Regions from separate parts of the Homo sapiens genome. Here region 2 is linked to region 1. The links are contacts of gene promoters, found by promoter capture Hi-C in blood cells and fetal thymus (Javierre and others, 2016). All regions are on one chromosome and are shown on one strand. The core of a region is centred on a gene start or on the middle of the fragment in contact, and the rest is flanking DNA. Distances in the headings are between cores, read along the strand shown.

Region 1 (6,545 bases), core at 1,874-4,373:
AGATTCTACTGCTACCTCTCAATTATTTAATTGTATTACAGTGATTAAAATTGCAGTGGTACTAAGCACATTTCTTGCTGTAAGAAAGCTGAATGTGCTATGATTTTATGCCAAGTCCACTGACCACTCAAAATACAGTGAGATTATTTTATAAATGGAGTGCAATATGCATTCTTCTTCTCTAGTGGTACTGAGGTTGCTCATGTGTTATCACTGCAAAAGGCAAGAGCTAGCTTTGCCACATATTTACATGAATAAATAAACCTTCTAGGCCACAGTGCTGGTCAAATTTTATGGTGCATACAAGCACCTGGGGATCTTGTTGAAACGCATATTCTAATTCAGTAGGTCAGAAATGGCACCCAAGAGTCTGCATTTCTTACAAGCTCCCAGGACATGCTGATGTTGCTGGTCCACACACCACGTTTTGAGTAACAAGGGTCTTCAAATTTAATTACAAAATAAATCTTTTGTAAAATATTTTTCTGGACCTAGCTTATTAGACATGCATTGTTTCTGAGGAAAATAAAGATAATTCAAATCTCATTCCTAGTCTAAGAAATAGTCTAGGAAAGTGAAAGTTAAGCTTAACCAATCAGAAACCACAAACTAACCTCTAACTATGGACTTTCCATTAGAATGATCCAAATAAATCCAGTATTCCTCTTTAACCAAATAATTTCTTTGCTCTGCTTCCACATTTACCCTATAAAATCTTTCCCTTTAACGACTTCCGACAGAGTCCCCAACTGCTTTCGGTCTGCTGCTGCCTGATGCATGAATGGCTATTTGCTCAAAAAACCCTTTAAAATTTTAATGTGCCTTAGTTTATCTTCTAACAGAAGGAATAAGTGTGAAGAGGAATTCTTCACAAAGGAAAGCTTTCACTCCTGAGATTTTGAGAATGTAGGCAGTAACGAAATCAGTGACTCAGGTTTAAGAAGAGAATATATTGAGTTCTAGCTTCAACACTAGGCAGTTGCCATTCTGATCCAAATGCTTTTATGGTTGTTGGCTCCTTGAACCTGCCGTTAGATAATAACAAGCATATAATGGATTGGAAAACTTTGACCCTATTGTTACTTCACAGATTTCTAGTACTTTTAAATCAAAGCACTATACTTTTCCCAGTTTTTATATAACATGATAGTATTATATGATAATTAGTACCATTTTAAAATCTGCAGTACTTGAGGTCTCAGAAAATCAGTCCTCATCTTTTCTGAACTGGGAAAAAAAAGTCTGTTTGCATATTCATATATCATGGTTGGTAATTTACAACTTCCTTTGCATACATTCAGTCCTCAGCAGCTCTGTGCAGCACACTAGGTAGATATTTGTCTTATTTCAAAATTGAGGAAATAGAGAGTTGGTACACTTGCCCAAGAGAGCATTGAGGTAGTGAGATGGAACTAGCACCTCTTGTTGCTGACTCCAAGTCCTGTGCTTTGTCCTATAAAGAACAATAAAATAAGAACTGGATGACATTTTACAGTTTACAGTGCTTATGAACATATCTCTATTTTCAGGGTAAAAAAAATAAGTTTTTTATACAGAGTTTAGACATGAAAAAACTGATGTCCAAAGTAGTAAAAGGAAATTGTCCAAGGGTAACTACTAGTGGAATCTAATAGGAATCCATGTCTCCTGCTTACAGGTCTTAGTCCTTTTGTGTTTGTTTGGTTGGTTGTTTTAGGACCTCAGATGCATTGAATTGGTTCATTTCACATCCTTTTGTTCATTTCACATTCTCCTCATTAGTCCATACATGGTTCTATTTTATTTAGTTACACAGTAATTTTTAATAGGATATTAGGTGTCCTATGAATCACTACCCGGCATAGAAGATAAGACATTAACATCTAAACTTCAAGTGAAATGCTTCCCCATCTATTTCCCTGCCTCCCTTCACCCAGGGTCACCAACACTCTGAACACTATATTCATTGTTCCACTGCTTTCCTTTTTATATTGTTGTATATGAATATATGAATACACATTGACATTTCTAGGGATTTTTTAAACTTTATAAAAAGCATATTATGCTATATGCAATATTTTGGGGATATCATGCTGTACATAATATGAGGGGCCTGTAGAATTGGAGATGTTTTTACCAACAAAATTAGGTAATCACAGTATACACCACCCCGTGGTGTGTGTGTATATATGAACATTTATTGTGTAGACACATCAAACTACCCAGTCTCAACTTGAGACATATTTAAATGCACTCTTCATATATGTGTGTATGTGTGTGTAAGTGTATAGTAGTAAAGGTCTATTCATTCAGCAAATATTTATTGTGTGCCTGCCATGTGTCAGGAAGTACTAAATACCTTACTGTGCACACACGTGCAAAACCAAGTGCAACACTCCACCCCCCTAAAAAAAAGTCCCTGATCTCATGGAAATAACATTGTACAGAGGGAGAGACAGACAGTACATAAAATAAATATGGAAAATATAAAGGATGTTAGGTGATGTTACGTGCTAGGGAAAAAAATAAAACATGCCAGATCCTCAGGGACTAGGGTTTGCCGTTTTAAATAGAATGCTCGGCGATGAACTGGGGATGAGGGGAGCGGGGAGTCTTTATTTAACGGGTGATACGGACGTAACTTTCGAGAGCTGAATCAGAACCGAAGTAAACTCTTCGGCAACCCCTGCACTCAGCCTATAATGTCTGTAGGATAACAGGCTCAGCCGCGGTGGATGGCCCCCGGAGAGACGATGCATGTCTTCCCGCCTTTCTTCCGGCCGGCCATCCTCTCCGCTAGAATCGCCCTGCCCGCCGACGCCGCACCTGAACGCCGCGCTGCTGCGGGCGTTGTACACCAGCGCGACCACCGCCTGCCGGCACCTCGCCTTGCCGCCGCGCGCGCGCAGCCCCGAGGACGCGCTCGGGGAGCGCGCACCGCCCGGGGCCGCCCTCGGGCCGCTCCCAGGCCCCTGGGAACGCGCGCGCGTGCCCGGTCCCGCGGCCTCTCGGCAGGCACGCGGCTGGGAGAACGGCGCGCGCCCCGCTCGGCAGCTGCGGCGGCGGCTGGTGTAGGCGCTCACGTCAGGGCTGGGAGGAGGGGGTTCGCAGCTCAGAGAGAGAGAGACATGAGGCAACCTGGCAGGAAGCGAGAAAGAGTTCGGCGAAGAAGGAGTGAGTTCTAGAGACGCCCCGCGAGCAGGACCCGCGCCTGCAGGAGAGCCTGGCCGACCCGGCTCCTCGCCTTCTCTGCGCGCTCTCCCGCGTCCGCTTTCAGCACCCCGAGCGGAGAACAGTTCCCGGCAGCCCGCAGCGCTGCCGAGTGGCCGCCGGCCGGCCGAGTACCCGGAGCTCCAGGGGGCTCAGGAGCACCCTCTGAGAACCCGCTGTGCACCCACCTTTTCCCCTCTTTTGGTGGGCAAGTAAGCACGGGGGAAAAGCATCCGGTGGCCTCAGGGAGCCCTGAAGAAACCGAAGCAGAATGTACCAGGGACACATGCAGGTAAGACATTTCTATAGGGCTGGAGAGAATTCTTGGGGGCTAATTTAAGAGCAAGGCGGTTCACCAAGTTTCTGTGGTCAAGTGCTGCCTTCGCACAGCTCAACAAGTGAAGTGATGCAACATGACCGTGACATTTCTGTCCGGTGCTGCCGGGAAAACTAGACCGGTTTCCGAAGGTGGGAGAAGGGGAGGGAAGACCTCAGAACTTCGATTGGGGAAGTTTGTTTTCTGTGCATTCCCTGAGCCTGTTTCTTTAAACAGGATCAAGGAATCGAAACAGAGGAAACCCTAGAGATGACCGTGTTTCCGTTGTAATCCTATTGATGCATCTCAGCATGTATGTCAACTGAAGGGCAAACAATAATAGGAAAGACAAAGCTTTTCCTTTACCATCTGAAAAGGTTGCTTGACTTAGAACACTCTGTCACTTTCGTTTCATTTTTTAAAGTGTTATATTTAAAAAACGATTTATAGTGTATTTTCCCCCTTCACATTATGGGACATTGCCATCTACTCCAATAGTCACAGGATGACTTGGGAGGATGAATTTCAAACACATGTCCAAGGAGCTCTAATGTTTTTCAGGGGAGGTGCTGCCTCCGGTTGTTATTAATATTCATCTGAGCTGAGCCGCTGCTTCTTTCCGATGCAAACACACTCTACTCTCTTGGGCAAGATTACTTTAACCTTGACTCCAGTTCTCATTCATACGGTTGGTTGGTTCTTATAAAGGCAGATATATGCTTTGGGAGAAAAATAAAATACTAACTCAGCTTTCTAAAGTATGAACTGGACTCTTTATCGCACCTAAATGGTTTAGTCATCAGGTTTGATGTTTGGGCTTCCTTTCCATTCCAAAGATGGTCAAATACAATCATTATGTGTGATGCCTTTATCCTGGTGTATAACATTTATGAATACTGAGGATTTTGCTTCTGTGTCTTTTAGAGCAATTGGAAATAGATAAATATGTTGTTATATTTATGACTTAGTACTACCCAGATTTAATTTCCATAACTTAGGGAAATTCTTTTGGACTATAATCCATTTTTAAATAAAACACAATATTTCATCATAGTCTCAATTTTTATAAGAATTCTCAATATACAGTGCCAGAATTCCAAAAGATTTCCCGTATGACTAACATCATCCTGTTTTGAAAATTATTAATGTGATTATATCACATTTGATAGACAAAAAGTAGTGAATGAAGTATATTTTTAAATATTATATATGATCAATGTGATCTGCATGTTTCTTATAAAAGCTACACCAATTGAAAAGTTAAGTAACATAGAAGAATTCAAATAATGACTGCTGAAAAAATTAACAAAGAATTATTACTATAGTTTTATGCTTCATCTTCACCCAAGAATGATACTTACAATTTTATATATTATCTGTTTTTTAAACAGTTTCTTCACAAGGGTAAAACAGGAAGATTTTAATAGAGTCAACCCTCAAAAAATTGTTCATTTACACAAAATTGACAATTGACCACTAAGGGGAAATTAACAAAAACTTTGCACAGTATTGTTTTGTTGCTTAAAAAATATGTTACTGTGAATGAAGAATCGAAGCAACAATATGGTAAATTCATGCACCCAAAAACAATTTTAACTCAATTTTCTCAATATCTCAAAGGAGAATGTTATTGAAACTTGAGTTGCCTGGAACAATGTCTGAGGGTTTAATTTCACTTTGAAAGAATAAACAAAATATAAGACTCTGCATATTCTCCCAACTTAATGTCTTTTGCTTGTGCACTGCTGTAACAGCAAATATGATGACTTGCAGTAAAACTCACAAATCTTTGCTGCCAAGCTTAAATTAAAACATTACTAAATAAAGACTGTAATCAATACATCCACCAAAATTTCAGAGCATAATACTTTTTTCCTACTTACTATTAACCATTAATGTTAAGCATAAAACTTCCGAGGCCTTAGTAGGTACGTTTAGTAGTTATTCAATAGTATGATGATCTGAATGGGCATCTGCTCCCCCCAACAAAAAAATACCTATGACAGATTGATTCATAATATACTTGTTGGCTTACATTTTAAACTCATATCTCTTCCCCCAAAGAATATTATTTAGCCTATGGACAAAATAACGTTTCCTTATCAGAGATACTATCATCTTCCTGTGTGTACCTGACTCTAATCACAGATAAGAAGAAACACATTCCAAACACTCCAAAATGTGTATGATTAAAATCTGAATCCATATTTGGTAAAGTGGACCAGGGATAAGCAGATTTACTAACATTTCTGCCAGCTTTGGAGTTAATTTGAAACATAATGTTACTTGACTGATACCTTAAAACAAGAGTGAAACAGAAATGTTTGCAATCTTTTGCTATGCATTCTAATTCTTCTCTTTTCTGTATCCAAGAGACTTTAAAATAAAGTGCTTTGTAAATTAGCAGTTTGAAGTAGGGGCAGGTGTTCTCAGGAAGACTTAAAAATAGTCTAATTTAAAACTCCTGTGGTGCCTTTGTTTTTGCAACTTAATGATTTTGCAGATAAAGTCTATTAATTCTCATACATATGGCTAATTCATCTGGTTTATGGTAGAATCTGAATTCATTTTAGAAACCGCAGACTTTTAAAAACACACATTTGGTTTGCTCTGCTAGTTCATTAGAAAATAAAAGTTGGCATCTATTACAGATAGAGCATAGAGTAACAGATATTTCTTGGTTTCATAGTAAAAGCCGCAGGTATATTTCTTAGGAGCAGGGTCCTGGAGCTATGTTTTTATCCAGCTGCCTTACCAATTATTTCCAAGGGGAGTTAGTCACCCCAGTAAATGAAGCAAAGGTTGCTTCTTTTGTGACTGTTTTAGATTTACTTATTTTTTTCTTTTGACCAAGGGCACTGATGATGATTGAATATACTTTAGCATCGGTTCTGACAAAACTCTGTTGCTCATTGAGGGCCTATGGTCTTAATTCCACCAATACCTCTGTATGTTCAGGGCTGAGGTGATTATTTGCCTATGTGCATTTGAGTTAACATTTCCAGTTAGAGGAAATTATTACATGTCTCTCAATGTTTTC
Region 2 (7,283 bases), core at 3,867-6,366, 530 kb before region 1:
CCTGAATCAAAGGGTTTCAACTAAGTGAGATATGCCTCTGTCATTAACATTTCTTGCAAATACAATGCTGTCAAACTTTTGCCTATTTTCCAGTGGAATAAGAAGTTGGAGGTAACAATAAAGATCTCTGTTAACTGCTACTACTCCTCCCACATCCCAGGAGTAAATTTTATATGGCTGTTTTAACAATGGAAATATGAATAACTCAGAAACACATTTCGTACTTTTCTTAAAGACCAGTGCAGAATTATAGACCCCAAATACTACTGGTACAAACATTCATCATTATAAACAATAGGGTAATCAAGTAATCACCAATAAACTGGATTGATCATGTTGAACCTAAGTGAAAACTTTTTTTTTATTTTTAAATTATTTTTGTTTGTTTTTGAGAGAGAGTCTTGCTCTGTGCCCCAGGCTGGAGTGCAGTGGTGTGATCTTGGCTCACTGCAACCTCCACCTCTCGGGCTCAAGTGATTCTCCTGCCTCAGCCTCCCAAGTAGCTGAGACTAGAGGCGCCTGCCACCACGCCCGGCTAATTTTGTATTTTTAGTAGAGCCAGGGTTTCACCATGTTGGCCAGGCCATTCTTGAACTCCTGACCTCAAATGATCCACCCACCTCGGCCTCCCAAAGTGCTGGGATTACCGGCGTGAGCCACAGTGCCTGGCCGTGAAAACTTCTATATAATAACTTCTATATAATTAAAAAGTAAGAATTGCAGCAGTTAACACCAGAAGCAATTCATTCACTCATTCTTTTTGCCCACAAGTATGGACATGTATATGTATATATATGCACATAGACATATATATATATATTTGCATAATGTACAAGACATACTATGGGCTGGGTTCATGTTGGTGAAAAAAAAGACATGGTTACTGACCTTATGAAGTGTAGAGTCTACTGAGAGCAACAGACTTTAAACAATTTAATTAATTACAACTATGGTAAGTGATGTGGAATAAAAGTATAGTATGTTATGGTTATGATGGTATATAATGTCTGTGAAGTAATTTAGGGAATATAACATGTAATCTTTGTATTGTTAAAGCTAAACAGGTTCAGAGGTGGAGAAAAATTCTAGCATTAAGTTGGTTTTAGTTTTTATAGCCAAATTTAAGTAATGCTTAATAAACCATTTAGTTTTATTAAGCATTATTAGATTACTAATAAGTAGTTTATAGTACATAAAAATAAGTATATAGCACTTGTCTCATTTATTCAATCCTTCACCACCAAAGAAAGAACTCACAATTTTGAATCAGATCCTACCACAGGGAACCTTGCAGCTCTCAGGAAGCCAAAGATTATAGTTTAAGAGTTGTCACCTTAGACCAGGGAGAGCAAGTTGTGGCCCGTGGACTGTTATTTTATGGCTTGTGAGATAAGAATAATTCTTACGTTTTAAAACTTCAAAAAATAAATAAAAAGAAAGCTTTTTTGTGACATGTGAAACTTATATGAAATTCAAATTTCAGTGTCCATAAGTAAAAGTTTATTGTAACCCAGCCATACCCATTTGTGCTACAATAGCAGAGCTTTGTAGTTGCTACAAAGATCTTATGATGTGCAGAGCCTTAAATATTTACTATCTGGCCCTTTACAGAAAAAGTTGACTGACCCCTGGCCTGGATTATAACACTTTAAAAGACTCCCTTTTTGCAACACTACCAGTCCCCAACTTTAAAAGCTTTCTGTATTAGAGTTTTCCAGAGAAACAGAACCAATAGGGTGTGTGTGTGTGTGTGTGTGTGTGTGTGTGTGTGTGTGTGTGTGTGTGTATAGAGAGAGGTTTATTTTAAGGAATTGGCTCACATGATTGTGGGGGCTGGCAAGTCCAAAGTCTGCAGGGCAGATTGGCAAGATGGAGACACCCAGGGAAGAGGTGATGTTTCAACTCAACTCCAAAGGCAATAGGGAGGCCGAGTTCCCTCTTCCTTGTGAGATATGAGTCTTCTTTTCCTCTTGAGGCCTTTAAATGATTGGATGAGGTACACTCACATTATGGAGGGTAATCTGCTTGACTCATTTAAATGTTAATCTTGTCTAAAAAAATACCTTCGCAGCAACATCTAGAGTGGTGTTTCACCAAATCTGGGTACCATGGCCTAAGCAAGTTAACAGATAAAATTAACCGTCACATTTTCTTAACAGATCTTAGACATATGATCCCCATAGTATTAAGCAAAACTCTTATTTATAAGTGTCTAATGATTGGGATGGATGAAGACGGTGAACCCAATAATAATCAATTGGTGTGGGGCACAATTAATTAAGGGTTTTTTTTTAGACATGGTATGCTAATTCCTAAAAGGGAAAACTTAACTGCATATACAATTAATCAGTTGCAGCAAACAATATGGTTCTGAACCAAGCAGAGATTTTAGCAGAGGCGTTAACTCAGTGATCTGAATTTCCTTAGAGTTTTTTCCTGGGCAATTAGAAGACAAGAAGAAAATGAACTTTCCTCCTGGCTTCAGGAGGTGTAACCTCAGACTTTGTCCATCTAGCAGAAGTAGGGACTTGCTGCCTTCCTGTAGATGCTCCCAGACCTCTGGTTACCGGCCATATGAGCCTGGGGGTTTGGTGTGGGGAGGAAATCTACTTGAGCTCCCATACTTTCTCTGAGGGTTGACCTCTAAGGGGAGCTTCCATCCTTTCTGACTAGAGGCCTCTTAGAGAATTCCTTTGGTTTTACCACGCAATGGGCCATTGTCTCAGTTAATCCGCTTTCTCCTGTGAGCCTTAATTATAACACTACAATTTGTCACTTGAAGTTTTATACCACAGAAGAAGCAGTAGTCAAACTAGCCTCAGAGCCCATCCTCTACGATTCCCTTTTCAGCTTTTCTCTTGGCAGCCCCACTTCTCTCTCTACTGTTCATCTCCTCTGAGCCGTTTTCCAAGGGAGTGCTGCAAAGTGAGATTGCCTTTATGTCTGTGGATATCTCGACCCAAGAATAGATGCCAGCTCTTTCTATTCCTCTTTCGGTTTCAAGCCTGTGCCGCTCATAGGCCCAGTCCTACACTCAAAACCTCCAGATTTAACATTTATTTTATTCTGTTTCATCAGACCATCAACACACATTTCTACAAGATCAAATTTTGGTGTAGTTTAGACATTTAGCTAGCATTTATTAAGTGCCTAGGATTTTTCAGGCACTTATGTGTATTTGAATCTTGTGGCAACCAGCAGGTTAAACATTACTAAATTATTTTACCAATAAAGAAACTTAAGTTCTGTGAGGTTAAAAATATTTTTCAAAATTACCTAGCATGTAAATGGGAGGCCCAAGATAGTGAGCTCAGGCTTGTTTAATTCCAATGTCTGTGTTCTTTCTATTGTTATACGGTATCTGAGAGATCAACTTCAGCTTTTGAGTTCCTGGTTAGATAATGCCTTGTAGGACTAGCTAGCACAACTTATTGATATGCAAAGCCATTATCTATGCAACTTTGTCAGCTGTATGTTTTTTTGGTACTTAGAGTGGAATATGGCAGATGTCAGGAAGCAACAGGCATCTGCTGTAGCCAGAAATCGGCACCCACATAAACATCAGTTGCCTAAACGTTTTCTTTAATATATCCTGATATTTCCTCAGAAGTATACCATCTGCTCATGGAATAGATAACCTGAAAAAGTCTGACGCAGTTTTTCTTAAGTTATCTCTTTTCTTATAATGCATTACTTTGGTTCTTATGCATACCTAATCCAATCCTGTACAGAAGCACAAAATATCTGCCAGCTTACCCACATAAAATGGATTAAACATGAGAAGAAAAATAGGTAGAGATTAAGAGTTCAGCCTCTGCTGTTTGACAGACAGTATTTGAAACACTTAGCACAGTGATTAACCTATAGGAAAACTCAATAAATGCTAGATATTTTTATTATTATCTTTTTTTTACTTGCAGAACTTTCTCCCTTACTGTGAGTGGACTAATAATAACGAAGTCAGTTTAATTGATCTTTTATTTTGCCTTATGTAGCATGTAAATTTAAAAAACCAAACTAAGCTTTCCATTCATTCGTTTATTAAGAATTCTTGTTGTGCATCACATATTTTTTTTTCTTTCTTTCTTTCTTTTTTTTTTTGAGACGGAGTCTTGCTCTGTCACCCAGGCTGGAGTGCAGTGGCATGATCTTGGCTCGCTGCAACCTCTGCCTCCTGGGTTCAAGTGATTCTCCTGCCTCAGCCTCCTGAATAGCTGGGATTACAGGTGCATGCCACCACACCCAGCTAATTTCTTTTTGTATTTTTAATAGAGACGGGGTTTCACTATGTTGGTCAGGCTGGTCTTGAACTCCTGTCCTCGTGATCCGCCCACCTCAACCTCCCAAAGTGCTGGCATCGAATATTTTTCTAGTTGCTAGGAAGAAAATGTTGAGCAAAAAGAGAAGGTCCCTGTGCTCAGGGCCTTAGAGTCTAGTGTGAAAAAGAGAGAGTAAGCAAATGACCACACACATACATGTATACTTACAGAGAGAGGGGAATGAGAAGTAGGGCAGAGGTTTCTGTTGGTAGTGAGGAATTTGACTTCATATATGACATGTGAATTGAGATCCATAAGATGAGTAGGATCTCACTAAGGGAAGAGAAGTGAAAGGTAAATTATTCTAGAGGAAACGATATGTTCATTGCTCCTCCTTTCTCTTCCTTTCCTCCTTCCTCAGTTCCTCAAAGCTCATGACGGCACCAGGGGTAATGCACTGTATGGTTCTTCCAAGTGTTAAAAATACTGAAAATCTTTCATTACGTTGGTAAAGAGTTTCTGCAGCAAAATCTCTGAGTGGGTCCTCCCTAGTCTTCCCTCTGCCTTGGCTGCCCTAGACCCTTTCCCAGAACCCACCAGAGCCCCCCATAATCAGCAACTAAATGGTTGATGCCTGCTGCAAAAGAGGCACTCGGGGACCTACTTCCTCATTCGGGCTGGAGTCTGCTGTATTAGATTGGTGCTGGTGCCATGTTCGTTGTAAAATATTTTGAATGTCACTCATTGATACAATATCCACAGTTTCTCTAGTTAATCTCCTGGGAGAGATATAAAGAAGTGATAAATTACCTACCTAAATCAGTCTCAAGAGTTATTTGCTTTTCTTTTAATTCTTTAAATTTGCTTATAGTTTTTAATTTATTACCTACAACCTTTGAAGCTAACAGCAGAGAAACTATCTTGCCCTTTGCATGAATTACTATGTATCTCACTTTAATTCCTTGGCTCATTGTGATCATATTTTACCTTTGTGTTACTTATTTTAATGACAGAGTCACAGAAATTTTACTCTATCCTCCAAATACAGTTTAAAATATATAGATCTAATCACAGTAGAAGGTAAGCAAGAGAGCACAACTTCAAATCTATTTCTAGAGGATTAAATTCACAGTTCTGGTTAGCAAATAAAAAGACTATTGCTTTTCATACTGTTTTGGAAATTGAGAGCTAACTGTTGTGGTTGAACTGAGATATCAGCCAGTGTAGAAAATTTTAGTTTTATTATTGCCTGTACATATGGATGTCAAATCCTAGATGTTGCAGTGGGATATTTAATAAAAAGAAAAATGGGTTACATCCAGTATATTGTCCTTTAACTCACTAAATTTTCCTTATTTCTGTAGATGTCTAAGTGAGGAATGGATGCTTTTAGCATGTGAACGGAATCTTCTAAGGCCCTTTCCTGAATGATCACTGGAAATAAGGGCTTCTTTTTCAACTTCTCTCTGTTAGCTGTGTTTAATCTATTTGATTTTTCTTTATGAAGAAGTCGGGTTTGTGGAAGCAGCAGCCTTACCTTTCCATACATTATGTATGCACGCCACCTAATTTAGCACAGGTTTTAACAATACACGATATCAGTAATTATTCCAAAGTTTCCATCTGAGCTAACAAACTTCAGTCCTAGCCAGCAACTTCTCACTTTTAATGATGAATAGAGAATAAAAGACTGCTGCACAGGTTGTGTTTGTTACTTAACAAAAATTCTCAGGGAAGCCTAGAAAAGTTTCCAGAGGTTGTGATGAGCAGAGGAAGCAGGGGGCAGCTTTCATTTCTACATCTCCACATGGCAGGAGATTTTAATGCAGTAATTATCTTAGTGTTTAATGCTAATGAGTTAACTCTCATCTAACAGATATATAGCAGTTATATTTTGGTAGGAAAGAATACAGAACATCACCACAGAAGTTCAAAGACTTCAGGAAGCTTTATTTAGATAGCAAAATATATTCCATGACAAAAACAAACTGAATAATGAGAAATGAAAAAATGTGTCTACCTCAAAGGAAAGAGAAAACAGCAAAGCCTCCTCACGCCATACCAGGAAAAGAGAAAACGAGAGAGGAGTGCTACTGCAGGTGGAGCATTTACCTCCTTAAGAAAGGTGCTGTTATGGGCCACCAATTCCAAGTAGTCTGCCCTAAGATAGATGAGTGGTGAAGTCTATTCAGAATCTGACAGGGTCAGGTCCTGTGAATATCATGGTATCAAAAAATGATGGAGCTCGGAGGAATTAATTCACTTGGTTAATTGAGCATTTACTATTATAGCTGCCACTGTCCAAGCACTGAAGGTAAAGCAGTTAAAAAGGTACCCTAGGCCTGTATCCTCAAGGTTATTATCAAATACATTTTGAATGTAATTTCAGGTAACTGCAAATGCTATGAAGAGAAATGAAGTCTGAGGTGTGGGGATTGTGACTGAAGGGCTGAGTTGTTTTAGAGAGGGTAGTCAGGAATTGCTCTTTGTGGAAGAGACATTTAGTCAGGGGTCTGAATGATGTGAAGGTGTCAAATGTATAAATGTCCTTGGGAAGAACATTCTAGGCAAATAGAAATGCCAGTTCACGGGACCTGAGGTGGGGGTGAGTTCACATATTTGAAGAACAGCCAGAAAGCTAGTGGAGTAAGTTAGGGAGAGTGGGTAAGGATGAGATGAGAGAGGTAGTCAGGCTAGATCATGTAGTATTTTATTCAAAATTTGATGGGAAGTCACTGAAGATTTTGAGTAGGGGGAGGGGTGATGTGATCTACCCCATGTTTTAAAAATGATTACTCATATGCTATAAGGAGATGAGACTATAGAAGGGTAAGTAGAAAAGCAGGAAAGCCAATAGGGAGGCAATTGCAATATTCCTGGTGATGATGAAGATGGACATGCACTAAGTGGTAGTAGTAGAGTGGTGAGAAATGGTTGGATTCTGGATTTATTTTGATGGCAAACCTAATAAGACCTGCTAATGGGCTATGGGGTGAAAGAAAGGCAAACATCAATAATGATTCT

The links. The method cuts DNA at HindIII sites, captures the fragments that hold promoters and counts their contacts. A CHiCAGO score of 5 or more calls a contact.
Region 2: a contact is called between a fragment that was not itself captured here and the fragment with the promoter of PEX5L in region 1, in 1 of 17 cell types (endothelial precursors). The highest score is 5.7, in endothelial precursors.

Annotation. Positions count from the first base shown.
Region 1 is chr3:180,033,515-180,040,059 of GRCh38, reverse strand. It overlaps PEX5L (peroxisomal biogenesis factor 5 like), which reads left to right and starts at 3,123. Exons shown (of 15, transcript NM_016559.3): 1 at 3,123-3,481. The coding sequence starts at 3,461. RefSeq lists a silencer at 3,008-3,057. The HindIII fragment of the contact is 2,978 bases long and covers 884-3,861 here.
Region 2 is chr3:180,568,074-180,575,356 of GRCh38, reverse strand. The region is part of intron 2 of TTC14-DT (TTC14 divergent transcript); the gene reads left to right. Among named protein-coding and RNA genes, the nearest start is that of TTC14-DT, 30 kb to the left of the region's middle. The HindIII fragment of the contact is 2,184 bases long and covers 4,025-6,208 here.